Linked DNA regions of Homo sapiens: all the other regions are linked to region 4. The links are contacts of gene promoters, found by promoter capture Hi-C in blood cells and fetal thymus (Javierre and others, 2016). All regions are on one chromosome and are shown on one strand. The core of a region is centred on a gene start or on the middle of the fragment in contact, and the rest is flanking DNA. Distances in the headings are between cores, read along the strand shown. Region 1 overlaps RPS6KA1 (ribosomal protein S6 kinase A1). Region 2 has its middle 51 kb from the start of MIR1976. Region 3 has its middle 25 kb from the start of HMGN2. Region 4 holds the start of GPN2 (GPN-loop GTPase 2).

The links. Contacts are between HindIII fragments. The CHiCAGO score rates a contact against its expected background, and 5 or more counts as called.
Region 1: a fragment that was not itself captured here is called in contact with the fragment with the promoter of GPN2 in region 4 in 1 of 17 cell types (total CD4 T cells); the score reaches 5.4 in total CD4 T cells.
Region 2: a contact is called between a fragment that was not itself captured here and the fragment with the promoter of GPN2 in region 4, in 16 of 17 cell types (activated CD4 T cells, M0 macrophages, erythroblasts and 13 more). The highest score is 11.8, in activated CD4 T cells.
Region 3: a fragment that was not itself captured here is called in contact with the fragment with the promoter of GPN2 in region 4 in 1 of 17 cell types (fetal thymus); the score reaches 5.1 in fetal thymus.

Annotation. Positions count from the first base shown.
Region 1 is chr1:26,556,104-26,559,181 of GRCh38, forward strand. It overlaps RPS6KA1 (ribosomal protein S6 kinase A1), which reads left to right. Exons shown (of 22, transcript NM_002953.4): 12 at 551-615; 13 at 895-997; 14 at 2,704-2,834. Among named protein-coding and RNA genes, the nearest start is that of MIR1976, 3.1 kb to the left of the region's middle. The HindIII fragment of the contact is 3,642 bases long and covers 5-3,078 here.
Region 2 is chr1:26,604,190-26,606,889 of GRCh38, forward strand. No RefSeq gene overlaps it. Among named protein-coding and RNA genes, the nearest start is that of MIR1976, 51 kb to the left of the region's middle. The HindIII fragment of the contact is 3,407 bases long and covers 1-2,700 here.
Region 3 is chr1:26,496,242-26,499,314 of GRCh38, forward strand. No RefSeq gene overlaps it. Among named protein-coding and RNA genes, the nearest start is that of HMGN2, 25 kb to the left of the region's middle. The HindIII fragment of the contact is 2,002 bases long and covers 289-2,290 here.
Region 4 is chr1:26,888,919-26,891,618 of GRCh38, forward strand. It overlaps GPN2 (GPN-loop GTPase 2), which reads right to left and starts at 1,365. Exons shown (of 5, transcript NM_018066.4): 1 at 768-1,365; 2 at 51-207. The coding sequence starts at 1,178. It overlaps GPATCH3 (G-patch domain containing 3), which reads right to left. Exons shown (of 7, transcript NM_022078.3): 7 at 1,570-2,308. The coding sequence ends at 2,092. RefSeq lists enhancers at 526-1,403, 759-928, 1,439-1,708. The HindIII fragment of the contact is 6,723 bases long and covers 296-2,700 here.

The DNA.
Region 1 (3,078 bases), core at 576-3,075, 330 kb before region 4:
CCCAAGCTTGCTTCAGGGCTCTGTTGATGAAATGAGGTTGTGTGAACATGCCGGCATGTAGTAGGTGTCCAGTGTGTGCTGGCTTCCCTGGCTCCTGGGTTCATCTGGTCCATGACCAGCTGTGTAAGGTCCAGTCAAGGCCCCTGGGGTCGAATGGAGTAACAGCCTGTCCTATGGTTGAAAAGGTCAATGGGATAAGAGGAACAGAGATGAGGCTTGCCTTGGAATGAGGTGGGGCTCTCTGTAGGTCTCAGAACAAGCTCAGCTTCTGTTCTAACTGTGTGGCCTTGGAGAAGTTGCCTAAAGTCTCTGGGCCTTCCTCCTCCCACTGGTACATTGGAATTTCTTCATCAGAAGCTCCAGAAAGTGGAAAATGCTGAGTAGGTGACAGGCCTTAGGGTGATGGCTGGGTAGATTTGAGGCTGAGTGAGCCCATTTTCCCCTCTGCTCCAGCAGCTGGTCCCAGAGCCCTGTGAGGCTGCTTGGTGGGCAGGGTAATATCTGGGACTTGTGCCAGCCAGGGACAGACCCTTCATTTGGGCTCTTTCAGGCTCCGGCCCTGATGGGGCAGAGGAAATCAAGCGGCATGTCTTCTACTCCACCATTGACTGGAATGTGAGTGTGTCCACCCACACCAGGGCTCTGGCCAGGGCTCAGCCATCTTGGCCACAGGAAGGGTGGTGGGAGGGGAGCCTCTGCCAGCGAGGGCCCCAGACGCAGGAGCAGAGGGTCACAGCCTGCCCTTGAAGACAAGGGCTGGCCTCCTGAGGGCAAGCAATTCCGAGAGCTGGGCAATATGGCCTATGTTCCAAGCCCAGCACCTCCTCCTGCATGGGGCTCCTGGTGGGCTGTTGAGGATGCCATGGTGACCAGAGTGCCCACCCCACTGTGCAGAAGCTATACCGTCGTGAGATCAAGCCACCCTTCAAGCCAGCAGTGGCTCAGCCTGATGACACCTTCTACTTTGACACCGAGTTCACGTCCCGCACACCCAAGGGTGCGTCCCTTATCTGTTTTGTCTGTCTTGGGCTGGTACAGGAGGGAAGCCGGGAGTCGGTGGCAGCTTGGGGGGCAGAGATAGTCAGGGACACTGACAGGCCGAGGTATGCGGGTGGGCAGGCGGGTGAGTTTCTGGCTCCGTGGGACTGACTTTGTCCCTGTCTCACTCCGCCCGACTCTCTCACTATGGGGCTCTGTGGGTCTCTTTGTGTCTGGTGAGAGAGTGGGAGTGGGGATGTGTGGGTGGTGAAGGCCACAGTAGAAAAGCCAGGACCCCTGCCCGGGGCACCTTCCAGCCCACTGGGAAGACCAAACACATCAGGCTTACCATCACGTCAGGGAGAAAGAATCTGACCCAGCCACACTGTGTGGTGGCTGAGCAGAGGTGACAGTGCCCATAGGTCAGGGACAGGCATGGGAATCAGCTTTGGCTGCCCTGACTGCCCGGCCTCCGTGTACTTATCTGGAACAAGGGCACAGCCACAAACCCACTCATTCCCTGGGGTTGCTACAAGAAGCCAGTGAGGGAGCTTCTGGGAAGGAACCTGGTGAATCCTAACTTTTTGGCCAGATATTGACAGTGGGTGTGGGGTGGAATGTTCTGGGAAACCTCCTATAAGGGCATGTTTTAGGAGAGGGTGTGCTTTTCTTCTCTCCTCTCCTCCCCTCCCCTCTCCTCCCCTCCCCTCCCCTCCCCTCCCCTCCCCTTCCCTCTCCTTCCCTTCCCTCTCCTCTCCTCTTTTCAAGATGGAGTCTCGCTCTGTTGCCCAGGCTGGAATGCAATGGCGTGATCTCAGCTTACTGCAACCTCCACCTCCTGGGTTCAAGAGATTCTCCTGCCTCAGCCTCCCGAGTAGCTGGGATTACAGGCATGTGTCAGCACGCCTGGCTAATTTTTGTATTTTTAGTAGAGACGGGGTTTCACCATGTTGGCCAGGCTGGTCTCGAACTCCTGACCTCAGGTGATCCACAAGGGGGTGCTTTTCTCACTGCACTTGCACGCCTCTGATGACAGAGACAGCACTTCTCCAAGCAGTCCGCTGGGCAACGTGACAAGTGCAGCTTCGTAGGAGTCAGGGGCCGGAGGAGCAGCATCAGGCAAGGCTTCTCAGAGGAGGGAGCGTGCGAGTTGAGTCTTGAAGGATAGGCAAGGAGTGGATTATCTAGTTAAAGGGAACAGTGTGTGCAAGGGCTCAGAGACCCCTCTAAGGATCTGAGAAGTCCAACATGGCTCAGCTGTGGTATGGAGAGAGAGGAGGTGAGGATCACAGGGCCCTCAATTGCCAGACTCAGGAGCTGGACTTACTCCTGAAGGCAGACGGGAACCTTTGAAAGGTGTGGGCAGGGTGGCAGATTTGTGGTTGGAACCTTCCCTCTGGCTGCTGTGCAGAGATGGACCTGAAGGGGCTGACGTAAGATGGGGAAGCTGGGGAGGAAGCATCCAGGAAGGGATGAACTGTCTTGGCCTGGGATGGAGGTGGATGTGAGAGTCTTTTTTGTTCCTCATGCGACAGGACTGGGCTGGTCTAATAAACACATATGAGCAGTTGGGCCAAGGCCTGTGATGGACAGGCCCTCTGCAGGCTCCCGCCACGGCCAGCCCCTGAGGCAGGTCTGGAGGCCCTGTGCTCCCCCTTTGCTGGGCTGCCTCAGGGTCGAGGGGACCTCCTCAGGTACCCTCACATTCTCCTTCCATCCGTACAGATTCCCCAGGCATCCCCCCCAGCGCTGGGGCCCATCAGCTGTTCCGGGGCTTCAGCTTCGTGGCCACCGGCCTGATGGAAGACGACGGCAAGCCTCGTGCCCCGCAGGCACCCCTGCACTCGGTGGTACAGGTGAGGGGGGCAGGGGGCTGCTGCTCCATTATCCTTTTCTAAAGAATGGCTGAGTACACAGGCTCTGAGTTGGACAGAACCAGGTTCATACCCTCATGCCACTGTGGGACCAGTAGGGCCTCCAACATAAAACAGGGACAGTAAGGCCCACCTCACACAGTGGCCCTGATAATTGGATGATGATATGGGTGTACATTTCCCAGCACAGAGCCAGGGTCTGGGTACATGTCAGGAGGTGCCCAGG
Region 2 (2,700 bases), core at 132-2,631, 280 kb before region 4:
TAAATGTGTCTTTAAAATACCAGGATCTTCAGTTATGAAGATATGGGCAAAACTGCTTCCCCCAGACAAACCTGAGGTGGGGGATGTAGGTGTCACATTCAAATCAAAAAGGTGCCTCTCGACAGGAAAGATTTAATCAGCTCTCCTTCCCAGGATCGGCTGCCAGGTTTGAACATTTACTTGTCTGAGTTCCAGGCAGGAGACACTGCTAATTATGGGAGCAATTCCCATGGCTACAGAAAAGAACTGTCTGAGCTGGGGAGTCAAAGCTCTGATCAAGAGGGGACTGAGAGGAAAAAAGCCCCCAGCATTCTCAGAGGAAATTCTGGAGTTGACAAGATACATGCCTTCTCTGCAGGAATGCCCCCTATGTCTGGCATTTGAAGATCTAGAAACATCCTTCCCTTCACCTTCCTAACTTACGTGTTAAGAATCCCTTTGTTTGACAAATAGAATTTTCAAAGCAGTTTCTTTCGTTCAAACACTACGTGATTAAGTTTGTTTTGGAAAAAAACACAGAATGAGGACTTTACTAAGAGTGATTCTCACAAATGATGGTACCTGAAAAGAGGCAAACTTGGCCATCAGGGCAGCCAAAATGGCACAAGCATTTGGAACTTGTTGCCTTATCCTTGGCAAAAACACCACTGGATCCTTTCCGCTCTACGTAAAGTAAGCTGTGGCAAAGTTTACTTTTCTTGTGGCACAAAATCTAGACTCACAGTGAGCTTCTTCACCATTAGCTTCAATTTATATTCTGCCTCTCTTCTTTGTCCATTATTCAGGGCACCTGCTCTCTGTCCCTCCCCCACTCCTCCAGCTGTCTGTCTGTCTCATTTGTGTCAATTAGGAATTCAATACTGCTTGATTTAACTGAATGACTTTCCCTGTACAGAATCTCAACTACAGACAGGGCATCAACCATCACTCCCATTCCCCAGAATAAAAAATTCTGAAAAGCCAAAGGCATGCAAGGATACCTAAGAAAGGAGCAAGAGGTCCTTGCTAGCTATGGCAGTGAGCCTGAGAAAGATGGCAAGACCGCATTTCCTGACACCCAGTTATGTATTTGGTGGCCTACCAAGAGTCAGCATTGCATCCAAGATCATTTGAGTCTACTCTATTTAGTAAAGGTTTTCAAAGAGGATCATAAGACTTAGAAATCAAGAACCAACTGGAAGAAATAAACTTTTTATATCATTTCCTAGTTTACAACATGCTTTCCCATCCTCAGAAGAATGACTTTGTCTTTCTGTTAATTCAGTCATTGAAAACATCGGTCCTATTCTTTAGTCAACTGCCTCTATTCACCTACTATGTGCCAGGCAGTGTTATCAGAGCTGAAAACAGTGTTCTAAGAACAGAAAATAAAATAAAGTTCTTATTCTCATGCAACTTACATTCTAATGGGAAGGATCAAAATAATAAGTAAGTAGACCTATAGTGTATTAAATGATAATGAGGGTATTGAGAATCATAAAGCAGTGTTAAGGGAGATAGAAATTATGGTTTGAGCAGAGTCTTTTTTTTTTTTTTTTTTTTGAGATGGAGTCTCACTCTCTTGCCAGGCTGGAGGGCAATGGTGTGATCTCAGCTCAATGCAACCTCCGACTCCCTGGTTCAAGCAATTCTCCTGCCTCAGCCTCCTGAGTAGCTGGGATTACAGGCACGCGCCACCATGCCCAGCTAATTTTTTGTATTTTTAGTACAGATGGGGTTTCACCATGTTGTCCAGGATGGTCTCGATCTCCTGACCTTGTGATCTGCCCGCCTCGGCCTCCCAAAGTGTTGGGATTACAGGTGTGAGCCACCGCGCCCGGCTGGACAGAGTTTTTTTAGTTTACAAAGGGTAGACAGAAAGAACTCACTGATGAGGTGATTTGAGCTGAGACATAAAAGAAGAGGGAGAACAAGCCATATAAATATGAGGGGGAGGAGCTTGCCAGGCAGAGGGCACAGCAAATGCACAGGTCCTGACACAGGAGTTTCCTTGTTGAAGGAGACCAATTGTAGCTAAATAGAATAAGCCAAGGGAAAGATGTAAGAGAGGTCAGGAAAGTGGGAGTGGAGGGGACAGACTTGTAAGGCCTTGTAAATCATTGTGGGGTCTTTGTTTATTTTGTTTTGTTTTGTTTTAGACAGACTCTCGCTCTTTTGCCCAGGCTGGCTGAAGTGCAGTGGCACAGTCTTGGCTCATTGCAACCTCCGCCTCCCAGGTTCAAGCGATTCTCCTGCCTCAGCCTCCCAAGTAGCTGGGATTACAGGTGTGCACCACCACACTCAGCTAACTTTTATATTTTTAGTAGAGACAGGGTTTCACCATGTTGGCCAGGCTGGTCTTGAACTCCTGGGCTCAAGTGATCTGCCCGCCTTTGCCTCCCAAAGTGCTGGGATTACAGGTGTGAGCCACTGTGCTCGACCTCTCTGTTTTTTATTCTGAGTGAGATGAGAAGCCACTGGAGGGTTTTTAGTAGGGGAAAGACTTATGTTTTATGATATGACATAAAATTATTTAATTTTTTTACAACGGGGTCACCCAGGCTGGAGTGTAGTGGCGCAGTCATAGCTCACTGCAGCCTTGAACTCCTGGGCTCAAGTGATCCTCCTGCCTCAGTCTCCTAAGTAGTTAGGACTACAGGTGTGAACCACTATGCCAGCTAATTTTAAAATTTTTTTGAAGAGATCGGGTTTCACTATGTT
Region 3 (3,073 bases), core at 40-2,539, 390 kb before region 4:
TGTAATCCCAGCACTTTGGGAGGCTGAGGCAGGTGGATCACCTGAGGCCTGGAGTTAGAGACCAGCCTGGCCAACATGGTGAAACCCTGTCTCTACTAAAAATATAAAAGAATTAGCCAGGCGTGGTGGCACACGCCTGTAATCCCAACTACTCGGGAGGCTGAGGCACAAGAATCGTTTGAACCCTGGAGGTGGAGGTTGCAGTGAGCCAAGATGGCGCCACTGCACTCCAGCCTGGATGACAGAGCCAGACTGTCTCTAAATAAATAAAAGGACTCAGAATGTATAAGCTTTTTTTTTTTTTTTTTTGAGACAAGGCCTCACTCTTTTGCCCAGGCTGGAATACAGTGGCGCAAACACGCCTCAATGCAGCCTTGATCTCCTGGGCTCAAGCAATCCTCCTGCCTCAACTTCCACCACACCCAGATAATTTTGGACTGAATGACTGATGGTAGAAAGTGGGGCTTGTTACGTTGCCCAGGCTGGTCTTGAACTCCTGGCCTAGATTCTCTCACTTTGGCCTCCCAAAATTCTGAGCCACCACACCATGCCTGCATAAGTTTTAGACCCTAAACAATCTGGATCTTTCCCTGCCCAGAGTGATACCTGCTCACCAGGTATAAAGGGCAAACACTCCAGACTGGAGCAGAACAGAGGACTCCAAGAAAACTTCTTCAAGAACATGAAAGTGATAGAAGATTGATGTGGTAGTCATGGAGATGAGCCTCCCAACACCCCCCACCCCGCCCGCTGTTCAAGGAAGGGCCTGCTGCCCAGCTGCAGGGAGTTTGGACAGCAGACAGCCTCCAGCTGTCAGCTCCAGGGCTGGCCTCAGATGCAGACAGCCTCCTCGCCCAAGATCACATCCTTCCACATCCTTCCTCATCCTTCCCCAGGGCGGCCCCCATCAGGTGACTGAGCCAGGCAGTGGTATAAAGGCCTGGCCATTCCAGCCAGGCTTGGCACACTCTGATGGGCAAAACTCACTCCAGAGCTCCTTGCCAGGTTGGCCTAGGCTTTGCCAGGCCTGCACTGTAGTTTGACTTCTGCCCAATCCTGCTTCCTCCCACTTCCTTTCATAGGTGTTGATCCCTAACAAACCTCTTCTTCTGTGTACCTTCCAGAGAGACCAACCTGAGGTATCTGATTTGTCTGAATATCTTTTTTTTTTTTTTTTGAGACAGAGTCTTGCTCTGTCTCCCAGGCTGGAGTGCAGTGGCGCAATCTCGGCTCAGTGCAAGCTCCGTCTCCAGGGTTCACGCCATTCTCCTGCCTCAGCCTCCCGAGTAGCTGGGACTACAGGCGCCCACCACCACGCCCAGCTAATTTTTTATATTTTTTAGTAGAGAGGGGGTTTCACCGTGTTAACCAGAATGGTCTCAATCTCCTGACCCTCTGATCCACCTGCCTCGGCCTCCCAGAGTGCTGGGATTACAGGCGTGAGCCACCACGCCCAGCCTGTCTGAACATCTTGAGAGGAGATTTAGATACCTGGTAGGGAGTGGAATACACTAAGCAAGTGGTAAAACAGGACAATTAAGAGCTGCAGGAAAACAAAAAGTTGTAGAGGAAAGGAATCATAGCGCCGTCGAATAATGTAAACAATGAGAATTGAACAAAACAAAATTATGATGGCAGTTTAGAGAGATGGGGATTATCCGTATGGCTGGTGATGGGAAGTGTTAAAACTATCGTCCTCCAGCCTGGGCAACAAAAGTGAGACCCCATCTCTACAAAAAACAGAAAAAAATATTAGCCTGGCATGGTGGTGCGCACCTATTGTCCCAGCTACTCAAGAGGCTGAGCTGAGGATCACTTGAACCAGGAAGGTCGAGGCTGCAGTGAGCCATGGATGGCACCACTGCACTCCAGCCTGGGTGACAGAGTGAGACCCTGTCTCACAAAAACCCAAAAAATAAAACTATTTTCCATGGTAGAAAAACAAGAGATAGTGCCTATAACTGAAATATCAAGAAAGAGCAAAACAAGCACATTTATTTCGAGATATGGAGATAAATATAAAATATAGTCAGTTAAAGGAGTTGAAAATGGGTGCCTCTGCTTCAGTGGAATGGGCGATGTCTTTTTGTTTTCTTAGTAGAGATGGAGGTCTCACTATGTTGCCCAGGCTGGTCTTGAACTCCTGGGCTCAAGCAATCCTCCCACCTTGGCCTCCCAAAGTGCTGGGATTATAGGTGTGATAATCATGCCCAGCCTGCTGTTTTTATAAAAACTTATCTGTTTAAACTTTGTGCATATATAACTTTGATTAGGAAAAGAAAAGAGTATAAGCTTCCCAATGACAGAGATTGCAAGAGTCTGGTTACTATAAAATCCCCAGCATTCTACATGTAGTAGGTGCTCAAGAAGTATTTGTTGTTCACGTCATTGAATAAAAGTCACCCCCCAGCTTGGAACTCTGAATGGCTTCTGACAGCACAGTATTAAGATCACAGTCTAAGCCTGGGCAACACAGGGAAACCCTGGCTCTACAAAAAATACAAAAATTAGCCAGGCATAGTGGCACACACCTGTAGTCCCAGCTGCTAGGGAGGCTGAGGTGGAAGGATTGCTTGAGCCTAGGAGGTCGATGCTGCAGTAAGCCATGGATGGCACAACTGCACTCCAGCCTGGGTGACAGAGCAAGACTGTCTCAAAAAAAAAAAAAAAAAATCACAGTCTGTGATGCGCCAGGCACTCAGGATCTGGCCTCTGCAGATTCCTCCGGTTTCTTCTTCAGGCCTCTTTCAGGTGGTCACATGCACAAGGTTTCCTCCTGTCTCAGGAACTGTTTACACGCTGTTCCTTCTCCCTAGAAAGCGCTTCACCACCATCACCTGGTTCTCGCACATAAATTGGTGAGATTTCAGCTCAAATGTCACTTCCTCCAGGAAGTCCTCCCTGTTTCTTGGTTCTCCTATCTCATTCCCTCATTCACCAGCCCAGTGGAGCCATGGTGGACCTATCTCAAGATCCCAAAGGGCCTTGCGGGCCATGTTAAGACATTTGCTCTTTGTCTGGAAGAGAACTGGGAGTCACCGAAGTGTTGCCAGCAGGGAAGGTTAAGATCAGA
Region 4 (2,700 bases), core at 115-2,614:
ATTCTAGCCCAGCTGCTGCCCTGCTCTTCGCCTGGAACAGAAGCTCTTACCCAGCTTCCCATAATGCTCAATGAGGTCCATCTTGGAAAGGAGGTTGATGTGGGGCAGTTCCACGTGCAGCATGGTGGCCAGGGAGGTACACAGTACTGAAATGAACTTGGCAGGGTCTGTGCAGTAGTGAGAATCCACGAGGTGGACGGCAGTCAGCTGGGAGGGAATAGACAGGGTGAGAGTGGCCTGGAGAAACAGGGATCAGCATTCCCTCATGAGAATGAGGGCTTGAGGACAGAGGGGAAGCTTTCCCCATTAGTCTCCTGCCTCTGTTTCTTTCTAATAACCACCCTGGTTTCCTTCTCCCAGGAAATAGGAGTCATTTTTTTTTTCTTACAAGAGGTCTTGCACTGAGCCTCCCAGTGGGCAAGGGGTTTAAATCCCATGGCATCTGACTCCACTCTTTCATTTACTTTTGCCCACCAATTTACAACAATCTCCATGCCACTTTCGACATTAACCCCTTCCATACTTCCAAAATCGCCAAGTTGGCTACTAACACATTTTACACGTGAGGAAACTGAGGTTCAGAGTGATGAACTGACTTATCAACACCACACAGCCAGTCAGTAGCAGAGCCAGATTCTGAACTCATGCCTGTTTTACTCCAAAGCGACCCAGCCCCTACCTCCCTGTGTGACATGGGGGCGTGGCGTCTGTCCTCCCTGTCTCAGTTACTCCATCCGCAAAATGGGCCTCCCCGCCCTGAGACGCACCCTGAGGTCCCACTGCGCCATTTGGGAGAAGATGCTGCGCAAGGCGCCGTGATGCGTGCAGAGCTCCACCTGGCCTGGGCAGTCGAAGAGGAAGTAGTGGCCGCGGAGGGGGTCGAGCTTGGCACGCAGCCAGTCCAGGTTGGCTTCCAGGTACTCCATGCAGTAGAGCAGGCCGCCGTTGGGCCCCAGGCGCAGCGCGTCCATCACGTCGCCCAGCCCCACCAGCTCGCCCACGTCCACGGCACACTCGTACGGCAGCCCCTCGTTGGCCGGGTCCAGGTTCACCACCGCCACGCGCCGGCCCAGCGCGCGCAGGAACTCACTCATGCCCAGGCAGTACGTGGTCTTCCCTGAGCCCGGCGGGCCGATCACCGCCTGCCCGAAGGCCGTGGTCGGAGCGGCCCCTGCCATTGGCGGCCCGCGGCCCGGAGCAGGTCAACTCACAGGGAAAACGGGGCAGGTAGCCGCGCCGGAGACGAGACTGAGGGCGAGGGTCCCAGTACGTATACCTCGTTGGCGGCCAGCGTCACTCGCCTCAGGCGGAACAGCTGAGACCGTGTCGCGCAAAAGGAGATAACAGGCCGATACTAACTAGACTAACTCGACTTCCGGACAGCGTCGGAAACGGCGAGCCAACGAGAGGAAGTCCCGCCCTCACGGCGGGGACGAAGCTAGACGCCGAGGGGCGGGCGGCGCAGCCGCATTTCTCTCGCGGGTAGTGGGTCGAATGTGGGGTCTTTGCGGGAAAATCGCTCTCGGAATTTCTCTAACCTTCAGACTCGAATTAGAAAAGTAAGGGAGCTCCAGTAGTAAACGTCTTTATTCTTCCGTGACGTCGCACACCCAAGCCACCTCCCGCGGACTCTCCGCTGGCAGTCCCACCCAGTGAGGGTAGAGGCGGTGGAGGGCCCACCCAAGGCCGGCTCTTCCAAGCACCACAAATCCTCTCCTCGCCCAGGTCCCTTTCCCCCTTTCTGGCCTTCGTGGGGACACCTTCAGAGTCCCCAAGGAAGGCTGTGCTGATAGCCTCACTCAACCCAGCTTTTCAAAGTTCTGCAGGAGGCAAAGGGCAAGCCCAGAGATTAGGGTTAGAGACCAAAGACAAGCGGTCGTTACCCCTAATATCCAAGGGGAGGGGACGGGAGGGGGCTTTTTGTAAAAATGCCCCTGAGGTATAGAACCGGCAGGCAGGCAGGCTCGGAACAAAACACCCTGAACCAGCCACGAAGACTGCTGCTCCCAGACTCCTTTCTGCTTCAGTGGTAGATGAGGCCAGGGCAGAGGGTTTTCATCATGTAGCTATGAAAGGAAGCCCCCAACCCGGTCAGTCAGGCAATGAGGGGCTGTCTGAAGCACAACTGGAACCCCTCACAAAGGCCATGTCTGTCCGAAACTTCATGCTGGTGGGTGGCTGGCGGCGGAGCAGTGACTCCGTCTGGTCTTGGGGTAGAGGCTCATCATAGATGGTGGAGATGAGCCCCAAGCCATTTCTACGGGGCCTCTTCAGTTGCCCAAATGGCTGTAGCTTCTCTCCATGGTACCTGGATAAAAACGGGCTCTCAGTGAGAAGGCTGCTCTCAAACTCCAGTTAAAGGGGTTGGGAGAGGACGGGGAAGTAGTTACTACATATCTGGTTTGTCCAAAGACAGAGGCTTTAAATCTGGGTCTTTGTTCTCCAGCCCTCTTATCTATCCATTGACAGTGCCAGCAAGAAGGGGCCTCATATAAAATTTTCATTCTGTCACTACAGACTTCCTAATAGTAACCATCAAGTCCAAACTCCTCCAACAAAGGGTATGAATGATCTTGTTAAGCCTTAGGGCTTACTCTTTAAAAAAAAAAAAAAAGTCAGATTTACTTTATTTATTTATTTATTTCTGAGATGGGGTCTCACTATGTCACCCAGGCTGGATTGTAATGGCGTGATCTCGGC